Regions from separate parts of the Homo sapiens genome. Here region 2 is linked to region 1. Evidence: promoter capture Hi-C in human tissues and cell types (Jung and others, 2019). All regions are on one chromosome and are shown on one strand. Each heading gives the region's core, a stretch centred on a gene start or on the middle of the fragment in contact. The rest is flanking DNA. Distances are from core to core; before and after follow the strand shown.

What was found. The method cuts DNA at HindIII sites, captures the fragments that hold promoters and counts their contacts. A contact is called where the count stands out against the background at its distance.
Region 2: a fragment that was not itself captured here is called in contact with the fragment with the promoter of GRIN1 in region 1 in 1 of the 25 tissues and cell types used here (lymphoblastoid cells).

The regions. Positions count from the first base shown.
Region 1 is chr9:137,137,396-137,140,899 of GRCh38, forward strand. It overlaps GRIN1 (glutamate ionotropic receptor NMDA type subunit 1), which reads left to right and starts at 1,759. Exons shown (of 20, transcript NM_007327.4): 1 at 1,759-2,349. The coding sequence starts at 2,092. RefSeq lists a silencer at 1,302-1,596. The HindIII fragment of the contact is 23,460 bases long and covers 1-3,504 here.
Region 2 is chr9:136,885,910-136,889,413 of GRCh38, forward strand. TRAF2 (TNF receptor associated factor 2) reads left to right here and starts at 607. Exons shown (of 11, transcript NM_021138.4): 1 at 607-632. It overlaps MIR4479 (microRNA 4479), which reads left to right and starts at 824; the gene lies at 824-894. LOC105376326 (a long non-coding RNA gene) reads right to left here and starts at 345. Exons shown (of 3, transcript XR_930448.2): 1 at 189-345. RefSeq lists silencers at 32-161, 382-1,191 and enhancers at 568-1,303, 1,304-2,039. The HindIII fragment of the contact is 4,160 bases long and covers 1-3,504 here.

The sequences.
Region 1 (3,504 bases), core at 509-3,008:
GTGGAGCCAGGGCCTCTGCTGCAGCCTCCAACCCCTTTCTTCCACGCTGATGAGGCGCTGTCTGGGCTCAGGTCTACCCCCACGCAGCTGCCAGGCTCTGGCCTGCCTGAGGCGGATACTTTTTTTTTTCTTTTTTTTGATGGAGTGTTGCTCTGTCGCCCGGGCTGGAGTGCAATGGTGCGATCTTGGCTCACTGCAACATCCGCCTCCCAGATTCAAGCGATTCTCCTGCCTCAGTCTCCCAAGTAGCTGGGATTACAAATGCCTGCCGCCACGCCCGGCTAATTTTTGTATTTTTAGTAGAGACAGGGTTTCACCATGTTGGCCAGGCTGGTCTCGAACTCCTGACCTTAGGTGATCCACCTGCCCTTGCCTCCCAAAGTATTGAGATTACAGGCATGAGCCACTGTGCCCTGCCGAGGTGGAAGTTTGGAGATGGGCCACAAACTCCTGGAGATAGGGCCAGCTCAGTCCCCCTGAGCACCCACACACACCCTCCTGAGAGCCAACAGAAGGAGTGAGGGCCCCGAGGCGGATGACCCGTGTGCCTCAACCCGAACGGGGAGAGGCGGGGTCTGCAGCAGGGTACGGGCAGGTGATCCCCCAAGGAAAGATTTTCCTGTATTGAGAGAGAAGGGGCCAAGAGGAGGAGCTTGTCAAACACCACAGCCCCTCCCCCTCCTCTCAGCTCCAGGGGGTCCCTGGTGCCAGTGTTCGGCTGATGGAGAGAACGGCAAGCGGGAGAGAGAGTGTGACCCCTGTGGGCACATGACTTCCCTTGCTGCACTGCTGCACATAGCAGAGGTGTGGTGACGACCCTGTTTTGTCCCATTGGGGGCGTTTGCTGTTAGGTCTGCAGAATCCTCAGTTGCTATTGGAAATGGTGACATCACTGGCAGGGGCGGAGCTTCAGCCATCCTTCAAGTTAGGGAGGGGCACGCACACTCCAGGGGTGGAGGGGGACAAAGACAGGGTGGTGTGGACCAGAGGGATGGGTAAGGCTCTGGAAAAGGGGGCGCTGGGAGCGCATTGCGAGGGGGCTGGAGAGGGAGAGAGGAGCGGAAGCTGAGGGTGTGAAACGGCTGGCCCCGAACACACCTCGCGGCGCTCCAGTGATTCCTGGTGTCCGACCTCAGCCCCAGTCAGTGCGGGTCCAGTTTCCAGGCTCTCGCGGAAGGCCTGGCTGAGCACATGCGGCAGCCACGGTCACCCTCCCTATTCCTCTTAGCCCGAGGAGGGGGGTCCCAAGTTACATGGCCACGCAGATGGGGCCTCTCCCTCATTTCTGAACCTTGTGGGGAGGGGAACCTTGAAGGGAGCGCCCCCCAGAGCCATGGCTTAGGGCCTCCCCCACCCCTCTGGAGCTCCAGTCTGCAAGAGTCAGGAGCCGAAATATCGCTGACTGTGGGTGACGACTCTTGCGCGCACACACACATACAAGCGGGCACGACGCGTTCGGTCCTATTAAAAGGCACGCAAGGGTGCGGGCTGCACGCGGTGACACGGACCCCTCTAACGTTTCCAAACTGAGCTCCCTGCAGGTCCCCGACAGCACAGGCCCCTGTCCCAGGACCCCTCCAGGCACGCGCTCACACGCACACGCGCGCTCCCCGGCTCACGCGCGCTCCGACACACACGCTCACGCGAACGCAGGCGCACGCTCTGGCGCGGGAGGCGCCCCCTTCGCCTCCGTGTTGGGAAGCGGGGGCGGCGGGAGGGGCAGGAGACGTTGGCCCCGCTCGCGTTTCTGCAGCTGCTGCAGTCGCCGCAGCGTCCGGACCGGAACCAGCGCCGTCCGCGGAGCCGCCGCCGCCGCCGCCGGGCCCTTTCCAAGCCGGGCGCTCGGAGCTGTGCCCGGCCCCGCTTCAGCACCGCGGACAGCGCCGGCCGCGTGGGGCTGAGCCCCGAGCCCCCGCGCACGCTTCAGCGCCCCTTCCCTCGGCCGACGTCCCGGGACCGCCGCTCCGGGGGAGACGTGGCGTCCGCAGCCCGCGGGGCCGGGCGAGCGCAGGACGGCCCGGAAGCCCCGCGGGGGATGCGCCGAGGGCCCCGCGTTCGCGCCGCGCAGAGCCAGGCCCGCGGCCCGAGCCCATGAGCACCATGCGCCTGCTGACGCTCGCCCTGCTGTTCTCCTGCTCCGTCGCCCGTGCCGCGTGCGACCCCAAGATCGTCAACATTGGCGCGGTGCTGAGCACGCGGAAGCACGAGCAGATGTTCCGCGAGGCCGTGAACCAGGCCAACAAGCGGCACGGCTCCTGGAAGATTCAGCTCAATGCCACCTCCGTCACGCACAAGCCCAACGCCATCCAGATGGCTCTGTCGGTGTGCGAGGACCTCATCTCCAGCCAGGTGCCCTCCCCCACCTCCGCCACCCACCTCCCCTCTCCTCCATCCTGCAACCCCACACCCCCAGTTTCATTCCATCCTTTCCGTGCCCCCTTCCTCCCTGTAAGACACCACCCCAGAGTCAGCTGGCTGCTTCCGGGAGGCCTCGTCTCACTAGGAACCAAACACCAGGGTCTGCTGGCTCCCCTATCTTGGCCTGAGACCAGTCACCTGCCACCTTGGCTGGTCCTCAGAGGGCCCCTGGGGCTCCAGGCCCTGACTGGTGTGTGTAGACGTGGGGCTGGAGTGTGTCAGTGTGGGGGTGGGCATTCCGGGTAAGAGAGTAGAAGCGCCTGTCCAGCTACATGCCCGCCCTGCAGAGCTTTAAACAGGACGGGGCCTGGGGCCATCTTTGTTTCTGCTTCCAGGTTCTCCTGCCCTTTCTTTCGTCCCTTCCCCCTACCGATGGGTCCGCCTGGGAAGAGAAATGGCTCAGGTGCCACGGCAGGACGCTTTGTGGGGGTGGGAGTGGGGGTGCACACGCGAGAGGCATCAGGGCATGGGAGCTGTCGGCAGCCAGCGCTGCGGGGGAGGACGTGGCTCCTGGGATTTTGCCTGTCGGAGCTGTCCGCCCCTGGGCCGAGCGCCTGCTGAATTCCAATGAGGCTGCAAGGATCTGCAATGCAGCCCTTTATGTAAGAGGCAAGACAGACATCCAGCCTAGCACCGCTCACACGTGCCTACCTGATGGACACACCACATCTGTGGACACACATGCTCACACTCACACCAAATGTTACATTAGCACACACTCATGCACCTCAGCATCACACAATCAATTTCATATGCTCATCTGCACACATGCAGATCCATTGACACCTGCTCATGTGCCACACACGGCTTGGCATGCATTCCCAGAGGCACGTGCAAACATGCACATTTACACACATGGTTCCAGTCATTCACACGCATGTACACGAACAGACATGCCAGGGCATGTGATGCACATAACCATACCCTAGCACACGCGTGAACACCTGCATGGTCACACACGGACCTACGGGTCTTTGCCAAGCACCTCTGGGTGCAGGCTGGAAGCAAGAGCTGGGGGAGGGAGAACCACTTCAAACAGCTGCAGCTGCAGGGCCCACACCAGAGTTTTCTCAGAAATCCTCCCTC
Region 2 (3,504 bases), core at 496-2,995, 250 kb before region 1:
GTATTCTTTTAGTCCTGTTTCTCATAAATGTTACCCAAATTGAGGCGCCGCTCTGCGCCCGGCACCGGGGGAGGCGGAGGGACCCGCAGGTGTCGGGTAGGTGCGGCCGCCCCGCCAGGGCCCCGCGTCCCGCGCGCGACGCGCGCCTCGTGGGAACCGGTGTCGCCCGGCTTGGGCTCCCGGCTCACCTCTCGGGTGTGCGGCAGGGGTCTCCGCCCCGGGGCCACGGGAGGGGAAGCAAGGGCCTCGCTGTCTCGCCGCACCTGGGGAAGGGACCCAATTAGCGCGGACCCCACAGCGCAGCACCTCACCAGCTCCCCGCACCAACGCCCCGGCGCGCTCTTTGAGGAAAAAGCAGAGGGCGACTTAGGTACCCACGCCGTCTCAGCGCCGACCAATCGGCGCACGCTGCGGCTCCTGCGGGCTCGCTGGTTGGCTCCGGCGTCAGTCCGTCAGGCGCGCTCGGAGCGGGGCGTATCTGGCCAATGGCTCTCGCTACAGCTTCCTGAGGGCTGGCTGGTTGGCTCCCATGTCCGTCCGTCAGGCGCACGCGGCGGAGCGGCGGCGGCGGCGGCGGCGTTGGGGGCGGTAGCTGGGCGGGCCCTTAGTTCCGGGCGCGCTGCGACCGTTGGGTGAGGCGAGCGCGGGGTCGGGTGCGGGGTCGGGCGCGGGCGCGGGGTCGGGTGCGGGGTCGGGCGCGGGGTCGGGCGCAGGCGCGGGCACCTCTCAGGGAGACTCCGGGCCGGAGCGGGAGCGGGGGCGGGAGAGGCCGCGGGGCGGGGGCGGGGCCAGCCCGAGGGGATTTCTCTGAGCCGCTGGGCCGGAAACCAAGTCCGAGCGTGGCTGGCGCGGGAAAGTTCGGGAACGCGCGCGGCCGTGCTCGGAGCAGCGCCAGGGCACGGTCCGGGGTTTTGCGCGGGGTCGCGGCTCCCAGTACCGCCTGAGGCCCGTGGGCGGCCCACCCGGCCCTGCCCCGTCCCGGGTCCGTCGCTCCCCCGCACCCTGTCGCCCCTCCACGCTCAGCTGTGGGCCCCTCGTGTCCCCGAAGCCCCGCACCCTCAGCCGGCTGCGTGCTCGGGAGGGTCAGGGGCGCCTCCGACCCCTGAGTTTGCCAGCGCCCCCCAGCCAGGGGTCGGGGAAGACCAGTGAGGCTGGGGGCGGAGCCGACTCTGCTGCCTTCCTGCCCAGTGGCTGGGGAGACCCAGGCTGAGCCTGGGTGAAAAGTCCCTCTGGCTGCTGGGAGGGTCGGGGGCAGCAAGGAGCCAGTGCGGGGATGGGCTGCGGTGGACCGGGCCGGGATCGGGGCCGGGGCCTGGTCCTGGCAGTAGCAGGGGATGTTTGTGGAAGGTAGAGCCGAGAAAAAGAGGAGTTGCAATGTCTGCAAGAATCTGGCGTGAGCAGCTGAAGGCTGGTGCTTCCTAGGCCAAGATGAAGGAGTCACAGCGCCCATGGCCTCTCGGGAGGCGGCCAGATGGGCAGCCTGGGGTCAGGGGAACGGTCAGGGCCAGAGCTGGGTATTTTGGAGTTGTCATTTTGAGGCCCCGAGGGCTGAGGGTCAGTGCAGAAGAGCACCAAGCCTCCACTCGGTGTAGGGCCGACAGGGGGTGGGGTGTCTGGCAGCCGGTGAAGACGGGGCTCGGAGGAGGAGGGAGTCTGGTCTGGGTCAAGTCAAGGGAAACTAGGACTGAGAACGGACCCTGCTCTGTGGCCACATGATTTTGAAGGGACGGAATTACTGCCCTGTAACTCAGTCTCTCTCCCTGTTAATAGCCCTAGTTTTTAATAAGAGGAACTGAATGTATTAATGGGTGGACACTTGTAAGGTTCAAGATCTCCTCTTCTACCACGCTTGCTTCTGATACTTTTGTATAAACAGTTGTTAAGAGTTTAGGTTGTTATCAAGCTTCTATTTGGTATTATTTTGAGCCTGAAAAAGATGGGGTTACATATAAAATTGTAATTTTATTTATTTATTTTTTGAGATAGTTTTGGTCTTGTTGCCCAGGCTGGAGTGCAGTGGCTCGATCTCGGCTCACTGCAGCCTCCGCCTCCTGGGTTCAAGCGATTTTTCTGCCTCAGCCTCCCGAGCAGCTGGGATTACAGGCGTGCACCACCACGCCCGGCTAATTTTTTGTATTTTTAGTAGAGATAGGGTTTCATCATGTTGGCCAGGCTGGTTTCAAACTCTTGACCTTAGGTGATCCACCCGCCTCGGCCTCCCAAAGTGCTAGGATTACAGGCATGAGCCACCGCGCCCGGCCATGAAATTACAGTTTTAAAGTTAACTTCTAGTATTTGGAGGGCCTCATATTCATGGCTGCATGCAGATCAGTGTTCCTGAATATTACTCAGATGAGCTTTTATAGAAGTGGGTTAGAATCAGGTGCCATTGACGCCTGTAGTCCCAGCTACTCCGGAGGCTGAGGCAGGAGAATGGCGTGAACCCGGGAGGCGGAGCTTGCAGTGAGCCGAGATCGCGCCACTGCACTCCAGCCTGGGTGACAGAGCGAGACTCCATCTCAAAAAGAATCGGGTGCCACCCAGTGAACTCTTACGTGGAGTCCAGTATTGTATGAAGCAGTTGTGTGCTGTTGGTGGAGACATGAATTGAGGTTTGAATCTCCAGCATTTGGGGCATCTTGGAGTCTGCTTGTGAGAAGGGCGAGGCCTGGGTTGAACCCAAGCGTTTGCGGCGACTAGGTGACCCCTGCAGCGGCCAGGTTGCACCCATATCTGATTTGATGTCATGGTTTGGGCAGTGTTTGACTTGTGTAACAATACAGCTTGTCCTTTTGAGAGTCACCGATGCCACCAAACCATGTTCACACACCAGAGTCAGGATGCCAGGTCTCAGCTGCCTGATGACTCCAGCTTAGTGAAGGCCTCTGATTTCTTGTGGGGGTGTCCCATTGTGAAGGGAACACACAGCTCGGCCCTACCAGCAACAAGGGTGCCAGATGCCCCCACTCTCCTGTGGAGGGGAGTCTCGCTCTGTCACCCGGCTGGAGTGCAGTGGCACGATCTCGGCTCACTGCAACCTCTGCCTCCTGGGTTCACGCTATTCTTCTGCCTCAGCCTCCCGAGTAGCTGGACTACAGGCACCCGCCACCACGCCCAGCTAATTTTTTGTATTTTTAATGGAGACGGGGTTTCACCATGTTAGCCAGGGTGGTCTCGATCTGATCTCGTGATCCGCCCACCTCGGCCTCCCAGAGTGCTGGGATTACAGGTGTGAGCCACCACTGAGGGGCTTTTTTACGTTAAAACTTGTTTGTTTGTTTTTCTTTTTTTGTTTGTGTGGTTTTTTCTGTTTTTTTTTTTTTTTTGAGACGGAGTCTCGCTCTGTCCCCCGGTGTGAGCCACCACGCCTGGCCTTTTTTTTTCTTTTTTTGAGACAGAGTTTCGCTCTTGTTGCCCAGGCTGGAGTGCAATGGTGCGATCTCGGCTCGCTGCAACCTCTGCCTCCCAGGTTCAAGTGATTCTCCTGCCTCATCCTCCAGAGTA